Regions from separate parts of the Homo sapiens genome. Here regions 1 and 2 are each linked to region 3. Evidence: promoter capture Hi-C in human tissues and cell types (Jung and others, 2019). All regions are on one chromosome and are shown on one strand. Each heading gives the region's core, a stretch centred on a gene start or on the middle of the fragment in contact. The rest is flanking DNA. Distances are from core to core; before and after follow the strand shown. Region 1 has its middle 2.8 kb from the start of LINC02896. Region 2 overlaps LOC124903515 (a long non-coding RNA gene). Region 3 holds the start of PAQR5 (progestin and adipoQ receptor family member 5).

Evidence for each region. The method cuts DNA at HindIII sites, captures the fragments that hold promoters and counts their contacts. A contact is called where the count stands out against the background at its distance.
Region 1: a contact is called between a fragment that was not itself captured here and the fragment with the promoter of PAQR5 in region 3, in 1 of the 25 tissues and cell types used here (bladder).
Region 2: a fragment that was not itself captured here is called in contact with the fragment with the promoter of PAQR5 in region 3 in 6 of the 25 tissues and cell types used here (heart left ventricle, hippocampus, mesendoderm cells and 3 more).

What each region holds. Positions count from the first base shown.
Region 1 is chr15:69,463,780-69,467,322 of GRCh38, reverse strand. No RefSeq gene overlaps it. Among named protein-coding and RNA genes, the nearest start is that of LINC02896, 2.8 kb to the right of the region's middle. The HindIII fragment of the contact is 4,515 bases long and covers 1-3,521 here.
Region 2 is chr15:69,069,437-69,072,973 of GRCh38, reverse strand. LOC124903515 (a long non-coding RNA gene) reads left to right here. Exons shown (of 2, transcript XR_007064692.1): 1 at 1-1,661; 2 at 2,733-3,537. Among named protein-coding and RNA genes, the nearest start is that of EWSAT1, 9.6 kb to the left of the region's middle. The HindIII fragment of the contact is 5,134 bases long and covers 1-3,537 here.
Region 3 is chr15:69,296,350-69,300,161 of GRCh38, reverse strand. It overlaps PAQR5 (progestin and adipoQ receptor family member 5), which reads right to left and starts at 1,250. Exons shown (of 9, transcript NM_017705.4): 1 at 1,106-1,250. PAQR5-DT (PAQR5 divergent transcript) reads left to right here and starts at 1,399. Exons shown (of 3, transcript NR_184010.1): 1 at 1,399-1,684. The HindIII fragment of the contact is 6,076 bases long and covers 1-3,812 here.

The sequences.
Region 1 (3,543 bases), core at 15-2,514, 170 kb before region 3:
AAAAAACAAGCCTCGTGGTGAAACCCCGTCTCTACTAAAACTACAAAAATCAGCCGGGTGTGGTGGTGCGCGCCTATAGTCCCAGCTACTCGGGAGGCTGAGGCAGGAGAATCGCTGGAACTCAGGAGGCGGAGGTTGTAGTGAGACGAGATCATGCCACTGCACTCCAGCCTGGGTGACAGAGAGACTCCATCTCCAAACAAACAAACAAACAAAAAACAAGCCTGAACTGCTTTCTGTCTTTTCACCACACCTCACAACTTCTTTGATGGCCTGATATGCATGAGGTTCTCATTTTCCCAAGTAAAGAAAAATTATGACCTGAAATCTTGGACCTATAAGCTTGTTAGTCTCAAAACCCAAGTACAACCACTAACTTAATATCTCATTTAACGTGCCACCAGAAAAAAACCTTCCAATATTCAATTTTTCATTTAATTTGTGAATTCCTTTCCTCTTTCTCAAAAGAATTTGAGTATAGATCAAAGTACAACGATGCAGTAAAGTCAATAAAAAAGCTGCCAAAATTTTTATTTTAAAAATCAGTACCAAGAAAAGGAGGAGGAGGTAAACACCTTATCCATTTGGGTTAATTTAATTACTGAGATTGGGCACCTGGTCTGGTACTGAATTTCTCAGCAGCTGAAGCAGAGAAGAGAGAGTGTGAAGTCACAGAGCTCTCGTTATCATACAGGAGGATGCAGACTAATGCCCCAGAGGACACAAACTTTCTCCTGCCCCTAAATTTTACAAGAATTTTTCACATGAGACCTTATTTAGGAGACCATAACAATATAAGAGCCTGCTCAAGTTTTCTGGCAAAAGCAGAAATGGTTTTCATGTGGCCTTTTCTTCCAACAACCTTTGAGGAAAACCAAGGGTGCACCAGATTGCACAGTGATTCAGTGACATCTTTCTTTGTTTTTAAACAAGAAATGAACTTGAGCATTTGCAGAGGCAAAGTGAAGCGTGCTAAGTAAATTACAAGGGAGGGAAGACCATATTAAAGTGCTCTTGGTTTCCTCTTGGCTGGGTCATGGGAGGGCACACAAACATGCTTTCCTTACTAAGGTGTGGACTGACTCACTCATCCTTCGGCCAAGCAGCCAGGCAGCTCTGACTGTGGAACTCACACCCTAGCCTAGAAGCACTCTAGCGTGAAGGGGTCAACCCCAGTAGCCCTTCCCAGGATTGGCCACTATGGGGCAACACTGAGCCAGCATCTGGAAAACAAAAATTCCTTTTGTCAGCAAAGCCATCCAGCATGTATGAAATTCTACCAACCCAATAATTCCATTAATTCTGAAAATCCAATATTTGACCTTCTCCATAAAGGGTGTAAAAATAAAACAGCCTTTCTAATTGTAGAAACTGTTTCTTTGATTTCCTTTTTATTTTATTTATTTTATTTTTTGAGACAGTCTCTCTCTGTCATCCAGGATAGAGTGCAATGGCGCAATCTTGGTTCATTCCAACCTCCAGCTCCAGGGTTCAAACAATTCTCATGCCTCAGCCTCCTGAGTAGCTGGGACTACAGGCACACGCCACCACACCCGGCTCATTTTTGTATTTTTAGTAGAGGTGGGTTTTTGCCATGTTGGCCAGGCTGGTCTCCAACTGCTGGCCTCAAGTGATCCACCTTCCTCGGCCTCCCAAAGGAGTGAGTCACCGTGCCCTGCCACTTTTTAACTTTTTAGCCACCAATTCATATGAGATAGCAAAGAAAAGCTCAACAGTTTTTGAACAGTAACTATGCTGTTTTATATGTGCCATCTCACTTAATTCTAAAAGAACTCTATGAGGTAGGTGTCAACATGATCCCCACTATGCATATGATGGAACTGAGGCACAGAGAGGTTAAATAACTCACTCAAAGTCACACAGCCCTATTTAGCGGCAATGGGATTTGAGCCAGCCCAGGTAGTCTGATATCAGAGCATTTAACCCTGTGTCCCAGAAGACTTACATGATCTCATAGCTAGAGGAAGCATCTAGTTCACTTCCTCCTGGAGCAACACTGTCTTCCATATCCCAGCCTCAGCCTAACACCTAGCAAAGCTTTTCCTTATTTTTCTTATTTTGACCTAAAACTGTCTCAAAACTGGTCAGAGTTCTTCCTTCTAGAACTACTTGGAAGTTGAGTCTCTCTTCCACATGAAACCCTCTCCAATTTTTAAAAAATCAAAACCAGTGTTTTTAATTTAGAAAAGTAATGTATGTTCATGGTCTTTAAAAATTCAAGCAATATAAAAAGGATAAACTGGAAAGTAAAAATATTTCTTCCACCCCATCCAATCCCTGTCCTCAGAAGTAACCACTATAATTACTCTTGAATCCTCCCAGAAGTTTTTTAATACTATAAAACATATGCACATTTTTTTTATTTTTTTACTCAAATAGGGTCATGTTATGCATACTGGTGGCAACTTACCTTTTTTCACTTAACAAGGTGTCCTGGATGTCTTTCCATAGCGGCATTCCTATACATAGCTACATGAAAACATTAACATTTATTCAACCTGCCTATCATCCATACTTTTTTTCTAATACAAGCAATACTTCAGTGAAATTGTACATAGCATAGGTTCCTACAAATGAAATTCCTGGATAGAGGGTAAGCGCACTTTTGAGAGAGAGGACCAAATGACCCTAAAAAAATTGTAGTAGTTCTGGCCGGGCTCGGTGGCTCACGCCTATAATCCCAGCACTTTGAGAAGCCGAGGCGGGCAGATCACGAGGTCAGGAGATCAAGACCATCCTGGCTAACATGGTGAAACCCTGTTTCTCCTAAAAATACAAAAAATTAGCAGGGCGTGGTGGCGGGCGCCTGTAGTCCCAGCTACTCGGGAGGCTGAGGCAGGAGAATGGCGTGAACCCGGGAGGCGGAGCTTGCAGTGAGTTGAGATCGCACCGCTCCACTCCAGCCTAGGCGACAGAGCAAGACTCCATCTCAAAAAAAAAAAAAAAAAAAAAAAAAAACAAAACAAAACTGTAGTAGTTCAAACTCAAACAGGCTGAAGAAAACATTTAAAAATTAAAAAAAAAAATTGGAACTTGTAGTGATGGCACAGTGGCTCACCACCTGTAATCCAGCTACTTGGAGACTGGGGCAGGAAGGTTGCTTGAGCCCCAAGGAGGTCGAGGCTGCAGTGAGCCTTGATCACACCACTGCACTCCAGCCTGGGTGACAAAGCAAGACCCTGTCTCAAAAAAAAAGTAAATTTAAAAAATTCAAAATCCCCACATTATTAACTGTGGTTTTCAGTCTTTAATAAAATAGTAGAATGAAACATTAAGGGGCTGGGTGTGGAGGCTCTCGCCTGTAATCCCAGCACTTTGGGAGGCCAAGGATGGAGGATCACTTGAGCCTAGGAGTTCAAGACCACCCTGGGCAACATGGTGAAACCCTATCTCTAGAAAAGACCAAAAAAAAAAAAAAAAAAAGTAGCCTGGCGTGGTGACATGTGCCTGTAATCCCGGCTACTCGGGAGGATCGCTTGAGCCCCAGAGTTCAAGGTTGCAGTGAGCAGAGATCATGCCACT
Region 2 (3,537 bases), core at 364-2,863, 230 kb after region 3:
TGAGTGTCCTCACAACATGGTGGCTGTTTCCATCATAGCCAGTCATTCGAGAGAGCAAAGTAGAAGCATAGGGCCTTTTATGACCTAGCCTCCGAAGTCACACATTGTCACTTTGGCCACATTCTATTCATTAGGAGTAAGTCATTAAGTGTAGCCCTTTTGTGAAGGGAAGGGTATCAAAGAATTTGTGAACATATTTTAAAACCACTAGTATTACCCTTATACATAATCTTTGTGTAGTTGTGTGACTATTTCCTTAGAATACATTTCTAGAACTGGAATTGCTGGGTCTAGCAATATATGCACTTTTAACTTTGATAATTCCTCCTGTTTGTATTAGAAACTGTTCACTGTCCCCCTACTATCCATTTTCTCTTTTCTTCCTTTTAGCAATGAATCTCCTGAGTTTCAGGTGGGTATGAGTTGAGAATATATTTTCCACCCCCCTTGCTACTACATGGGGACGTGTAACTAAGTTATGACTGATGAGAAGCATTGTGTGCAATTTCTGAATCAGGTCCTTAAAATACGCTGTTTGTTGTACTTCTGCTTTCCCCAGGGAGAAATCTATTCAGAGAACAGATGTGGTAGTGGGAGTCAGCTTCCAGCAGGTGATGCAGGTAACACCCCTGGGGATGGTGGTACAATGTACAGAAAGAACCTGTGTCCTTGTATAACCTTGTGGAGCCGAGCCAGCCTTCTTTCCAGGACTTTCTACTAGCTTAGACTTTTGTATGAGAAAAAAATAAAATAAAGCTTTTATCTTGTTTCAGCCACTGTTACTTACTGATGATTTGCCTCCTCGAAAGCCTCCCCAACAATGTATGAGTATCCATTTCCTCCATCCTTGCCCACACTAGATATTATCAATCTTCAAAAAGCTATCAATCTGATGCCCCCCTAACTTATGACTTCATAATCTCCTTCACGTGCTATTGCTAGGGGCAGGGTGAAGGATATTGATATAAAATTCAAGAAAAAAACCTACCACAATCATATTAATAGAAAACACAAAGATATAATCTTGCTTTTGAGAAAGAAACTGCAATTTCAAAAGGACTCATACATCCCCCCATAGACTCTGCATGGATGCTGTGCCTTCCCTCAAAGGCATTACAGACTAACTGGGAAAAGGTATCTGGACATAGAAAACTAGCAGTACAGAGTGGAACAGTCTGGCTGGCTAATTCCTGGTACTGACCCAGGGAGATTGAGAAGGGAGCTGTGATGGAGGACATTTAGCCTCCCAAAGTCAGTGGTTCATGAATTTCGTATGCTATTCGGGTGAGAAGCAGGGAGAACGGAGTGGACTATCTGGGAGAAAGTTGTGGCAAATGCTAAGGGTACAGGCTCTGGAGTTAGACTGTCTACATTCATGTCCCATCCCTGCCACTTCACTCTGTTGGCACATACTTACTGAGTGCCTTCTGCAAGCAAGATACTATTGGTGAGGCTGGGCATTCCACGAGAAACTCTGCTGTAACTGGATCTTCCTTTCAGAGTGCTGAGACAGATGACGACAGGCTGGGCTTCAGTTCCCTCACCTGGAGAGTGATGAGAACACCAGCGCAAAATTCCAGGGCCATTGGGAAGATGGAATGAAATAGTACATGTAATGGCTCGCATCCATAGTGCCTGGAACATAACAAATGCTCGTAAAGGTAGGTGTTATCATTAAGAAAAGCCATGAAGGAGAAAGTCCCTAGAGCCCCCAAGGTTCCTTTCTGTGCCTTCACTGGTGACTCCCATAAACTTTGTTTTAATGCCCCCGATATAGTGTGGATATTTCTCCCCTCCAAATCTCATGTTGAAGTGTGATCCCAGTGTTGGAGGCGGGGGCTGGTGAGAAGTGTTAGGTCACGGGAGTGGGTCCCTCATAAATGGCTTGGTGCCCTCCCTGTGGTAATGAGTGAGTTTTTGCTCTATTAGTTAGAGTGAGATCTGATTGTATAAAAGAGCCTGGCACCTCTTCCTCCCTCTCTTGCTCCCTCTCCTGCCATGTGACCTGCCTACTCCCCCTTTGCCTTCTGCCATGAGTAAAAGCTTCCTGAGGCCTCACCAGAAGCCGAGCAGATGCCAGTGTCATGCTATCCAGCCTGCAGAACCATGAGCCAAATAAACCTCTTTTCTTTATAAACTACCCAGTCTCAGGTATTCCTTTATAGCAATGCAAAATGGACTAATACAACCCCCCCATAGAAAAACTCCTGCTTTCATAAAAGATATCAGTTCTTTCTCACTGAGGTGAAAATGATTGATGTAGTTTGATGCACTACTTCTGTTGCATTTACACTTTAGTGGAGAACATACTGTGTTTGGTTAAATCACAGGGACGAAAGTCTAATTATGAAATTTCAGGCATCAGCAAAGCTAAACCACAGGCATTTGGGCCAATTGAGGGTGCTTCACTGATGCTGCTGAAATAAACATTTTTAGGGAGCTGGCCCAGTCTTCTCTTCCCTTCCCTTCCCTTCCCTCTCTTCCAGTCCCTTCTTATCTCTCCTCTTCTGTCTCTGCTCCCCTGCCTCCCTTTTCTTTCTCTCCCTCCTCTTCCTCCTCTCCTCTGTCTCCTCTCTGTCTTTCCCTTGCTTAAATGGCTATCTAAGTCCCTGATGATTCAATGTGATTACGTTTCCATAGGCAGGTGTGTGTCTTGTTTAGTCACATTAAAAATAAATCACTTGGCCACACGCAGTCGATGCATCAATCTGTTACTTTCCTCTGCTTTCCAGGAACAGATTGCTCAAAAATCAGACGACTGTTGGGTGAAATGCGAGTGGGGAAAGGAGTGAGATGAAGGGAACAGAGCCCTTCCAAACTCGCCCTTCAGCCTTCCTACCCAATCAGAAAGGAAATCAGTCATGCCCACAATCCTGCCAATAACACAGTGTAGCGGCTGCATTCTTTGGACCAATGACAGTGAGCTGTAGAAGAAATCTCATTTGGAGAAGAGATGGGGGCTTGTGTTTACTGAACATCTACTACGAATCAGGCCCTGTGCTTTTTTTTGCATCTGTTCTCTTCTAAAGGGGAATCAGGATCCTGGCTGAGGGACCCTGGACTATTTCACCTTTCAGGATCTCAGTTTCTTTAGACCAAAAACACTAACTCTTATTTTTTTGTTGCACTTTTTTAAAAAAAATTAAACTTTAAGTTCTGGGGTACATGTGCAGAATGTGCAGGTTTGTTACATAGGTATACAAGTGCCATGGTGGTTTGCTGCACCCATCAACCCATCATCTACACTAGATATTTCAACTGATGCTATCCCTCCCCTAGCCCCCCAACCCCAAGACAGGCCCCAGTGTGTGATGTTCCCTTCCCTGTGTCCATGTGTTCTCATTGTTCAGCTCCCACTTATGAGTGAGAACATGTGGTGTTTGGTTTTCTGTTCTTGTGTTAATTTGCTGAGAAAGATGGTTTCCAGCTTCATCCATGTCCCTGCAAAGGACATGAACTCATCCTTTTTAATGGCTGCATAGTATTCCATGGTGCATATCTGCCACATTTTCTTTATCCAGTCTATCATTGATAGGC
Region 3 (3,812 bases), core at 1-2,500:
ACCTAGGGGGGTGGGGAGTGGGGTAAAAGAAACAAACCTCTGCTGAGTCAAGGGCACTGCAAGAATGCAGAAGCGACCATGCAGCTCTGGAAGGATGCGGTGGGAAACCCGCCACTCAGTGGTGGAGAAAAGCCCACCAGTTTCTCCAGCAAATGGCTGAGCTTTGTTGGGCCTCCTTGTCTTCTCATCTGCCCATGTGTTAATATCTACTCGCCATTGGTTTGTTAGGTTCAAATGAAATCAGGGATGTGTCCCTTTTTGGCTGCTAGCTCTTCTCAGATCCCCTGACCTCTCCCCATCTCTTCTCTATGGCTCTGCGTGGGAAGGGGCAGTTGTCACCCCCGACTCCCACTAAGCTGAGCCCTCCTCCCAACCTAAGCGGGAGGAAGCCGGTTCTGCTCACGGATAAGAGTTACCGGGCTCCTGAGTTCTTGTTCTGCTGGGCCGGGGTCCACCCCCTCTCCTGGGCTCATCCGACTAGGACTTGGGAAGTGCTAGGGGAGCCAGGAGATGCCCAGCTGGGGGCTGTGGCCGGGGGGAGGCCAATGACAGAGCAGGGGGAACTCCCTGTAGCTGGGCACCCACTTCAACAGGGCCGGGACGACCCCCGCAGGCAGTGGGCCGCCCCTCACCCACACGGTCCTGCTCAGCCCAGGCTCACATCTGGGCTCAGGAGGCGGGAAGCACAGGTGTAAAGAAATCGCCAACTGTGCAGCCCCAATCCAAGGGTTTTATTAAAGTGGGGGCGGCGGGAGGGGGGCGGTGGAGGAAGGATAAGCGGCGCAAACGCCCTGGAGAGTGAGAGAAAAGGTGCGAGAAGGCAACAGCTCCCCTCACCGCCCTCGATTGCAGCAGAGAGCCTTCTGCACGGCGGCGGCCGCCCCACCTTCACACCGGCCCCGCGTGCGGTGAAAGTGGCCGAGCCGCGCCGCCGCCGGATCAGGGCCGCCCCGGCACAAACTTTCCCAGACCCGCCCTCGGAGCGGCCACCCAGGCTCAACGGGCTCCACGGGCGCAGGGCGGCTGGGGCTGCCGCGGAGGGCGGGTGCGCGTGGACCGGGAGGTGGGGAGGCGGCGCGCGGCGGGGAGTCCCGCCCCGGGTTACCTGGGTTCCAAGGGTCTCGGGAGTCCAGTGGACAGGGCGCGGGGACAGCACAGGCAGGCCGGAGACCAGACACTCCTCCCGGGCTGCGGCGACCCCGGACTCGCGGGCCCTGCACCTGGCCCTGCGGGTCGCCGCGCCTACCCATGCCGGTCCCCGCCCGTCCCCTCCCGCGCGGGGCGGGGCGGCCCCGGGGGAGGAGCCGAGGGCCGTGGGCACCACCCCCTGAGCCAGGCCTGCGCCTCATCACGTGCCACCGACCCTGGGCTCTGTGACTTCCAAAGACTCGCCACCCCATTCCACAGCCTGAGGTGCCACCAAAGCCATAAGCCCAGGGGAGTCTCTCACACCCCATTCTCCTAGGGCCCATGTACCCCACGCCCACCTCCACCCCAGGAGCCGAAGGCCGGCAGGGAGCCTGGAGAGCCTCCTTGATGGGAGAACTGCGGAGCTTGCCCCTCGGAAAAGTGCATGGGGTGGAGAACAGGGAAGGAGAAAAAAACAACAACTGGGTACTCGCAGCCCCACCGCGGTGTCCGCTTCGCCGGTGGGAGAGGATCCTCGCCGCCCTGAATCCTTGAAGTGAGTTCCACCCCTGTCTCTTGGAGTGCTCAGGGTGGCGGGCCCTTTGCCAGCCCTCACCCTTTCCCCAGGGATCCTGTCCCAGGTCACAGGCTCCTAGACTGGAAGGCGCTGGGCCTGGACCTCTGCCACTCAGTGGACACAGCTATAAGAGATGAAGGGACACAGAGGACAAAGAAGAAACATTTGGCTTCAGGGAACCAGACTCTGTGTCTCCTCCCAGGTGCTGAAGGAACAGGTTGCAGCTACCTGGTGCCCCCACCCCGACCCTGCCAGAGAAAGGTTGGAACATCCACACCTGTGGACCGAAGTCCCCCACCAGGCTCTTTCCTCCCACCCTTCAGCCCCAGGCTCTCTGAGCTCCTGCTCCTCCCTGCCTTGCCTTGTTTGCTGAGGGCACACACAGTGGAGAGAGCACAGGACTGGGAGTCCAGAGACCTGGGCTCTAGTCTACTCTGTGACTCGGGTCAAGTCTCTGGCCCTTTGTGGGCCCAAGTTGCCCCATTTGCAGTGAATAGGTTGCAGTCAATTATCTCCGGCCATTTTTACGGATCCTGAACCGTGGTCTTGGGCACCTTGCTTTATTAGGCTTTTTGGTGGCTGTGCATCTTGTAAGGGTGTGTATGCATGTGCGTGTGTGTGTGCGTGCGACATGCGCTTGTCCTCTCAGACCCAAGTTCTTAAAGGGAAAGAGACTGGGGCCTACACAGAGGCAGGCATGTATATTCCACAGACCAGAGTTTGACAAGAATGACTGGACACAAGAGTGGAGCCCAGTCCCAGCTCTATGCTGAATTCAGAGTAGCCTTGGACAAGACCCTCACCATCTACAAAATGGAGATTAATAATCCCTGCTTTGCCTTTCCAAGGCTAGTCGGGGGACTCAGTGAGATATTAGATATGAAGCTCTTTGAAGGGGAATAGCACAGGGATGTGTGCTTTTGATGTCTGGGCCAGTGATGGGTTTGGGGGAAGAATAGGGTGTGAAGCATTCTCTGGGAGGCAAAGGCTGGCACTGGACTGATTGGCCACCCTGCCAAAGCTGCAGCATGCACAGCACAGGCAGGCACCCCACCACCAGCAGCCAAGGTGAGCAGAGATGCCTGGTGCCCCACCTGGATTCCTGCCTGCTGTAGGTATCTGTGTGTGCACCTTGAAGAAACTAAAGAGGGAAGATAAAGAGGCTCCCAACCTAAATGGAGGTGGTCAGTGGATTACTGATGAATCGATCTGCATATCTTGGCCAAAATCACCCTCCTCTGCTCTTAGGGAGTTTAAAGTCTAACTGAATGATTGAACATGAACCCTTTGGAGAATGATGTGGAGCCAGGAGAGGGGATTGTGGATGGTGAGCACACAGGATGATCAGAGGAGGGGGAAGGGCAGGGAGGGGCCGGGGAGGGGGGTACTTAGACCACATGGAGATGCATTTAGAGTATTGTGTTCAACACTCCTATTTCATAGTGATGAAATGGAGGCCCAGAGAGGGAAAGTGACCTGCCCAAGGTCACACAGTCACAAGAAGTCAGTAGCAGAGCTAGAACTTGGACCCAGGACTTCAGGAATCTATGCTGGATTTGAGCCTCCTGTGCAGCCGAGGGAGACCTGAAGTGTGGGAAGGACTGGGATACGTACCAGTGGGCAGGAAGAAAGAGTGAGGCAAAGTGCAGAGGTGGGAACTTTGTACAGCAAGGGAAAGGAGCTGGAATCACAGGCAGGATCTGGAAGGAGGGAGCTGCCCAGACCTGGAAAGCCAGGCTGAGCACTGCAGACCACAGAGGGTTTCGAGCTGACACCAGTTGGGAAGATACAGGCGTGCGAGGGGCACACGCCCAAATGACCCAGTGAGACAGCAGGTGACATGACAGCAAGGCAGCAAGGAGACGGGGAAGAGCAGCTCCAGGAGTCAGGCAACCTCCAATCAAATGGCCTTGAGCAAGTTGTCTCTCTTCTCTGACCCTCAGTTTCTTTTTTGTGGAGTGAGAGATAATCATCTTTTTTTCCTTTCAGGGTTATTGTAGTGACCACAGAATGCATTTGGAAGTGCTCTGTAAACTGCAGAGTGCTAAGTAAATTTAATATTTGGAGTTGTGTTTTATTTTCCAAAGGGCTCAGTAAACATTTGTGG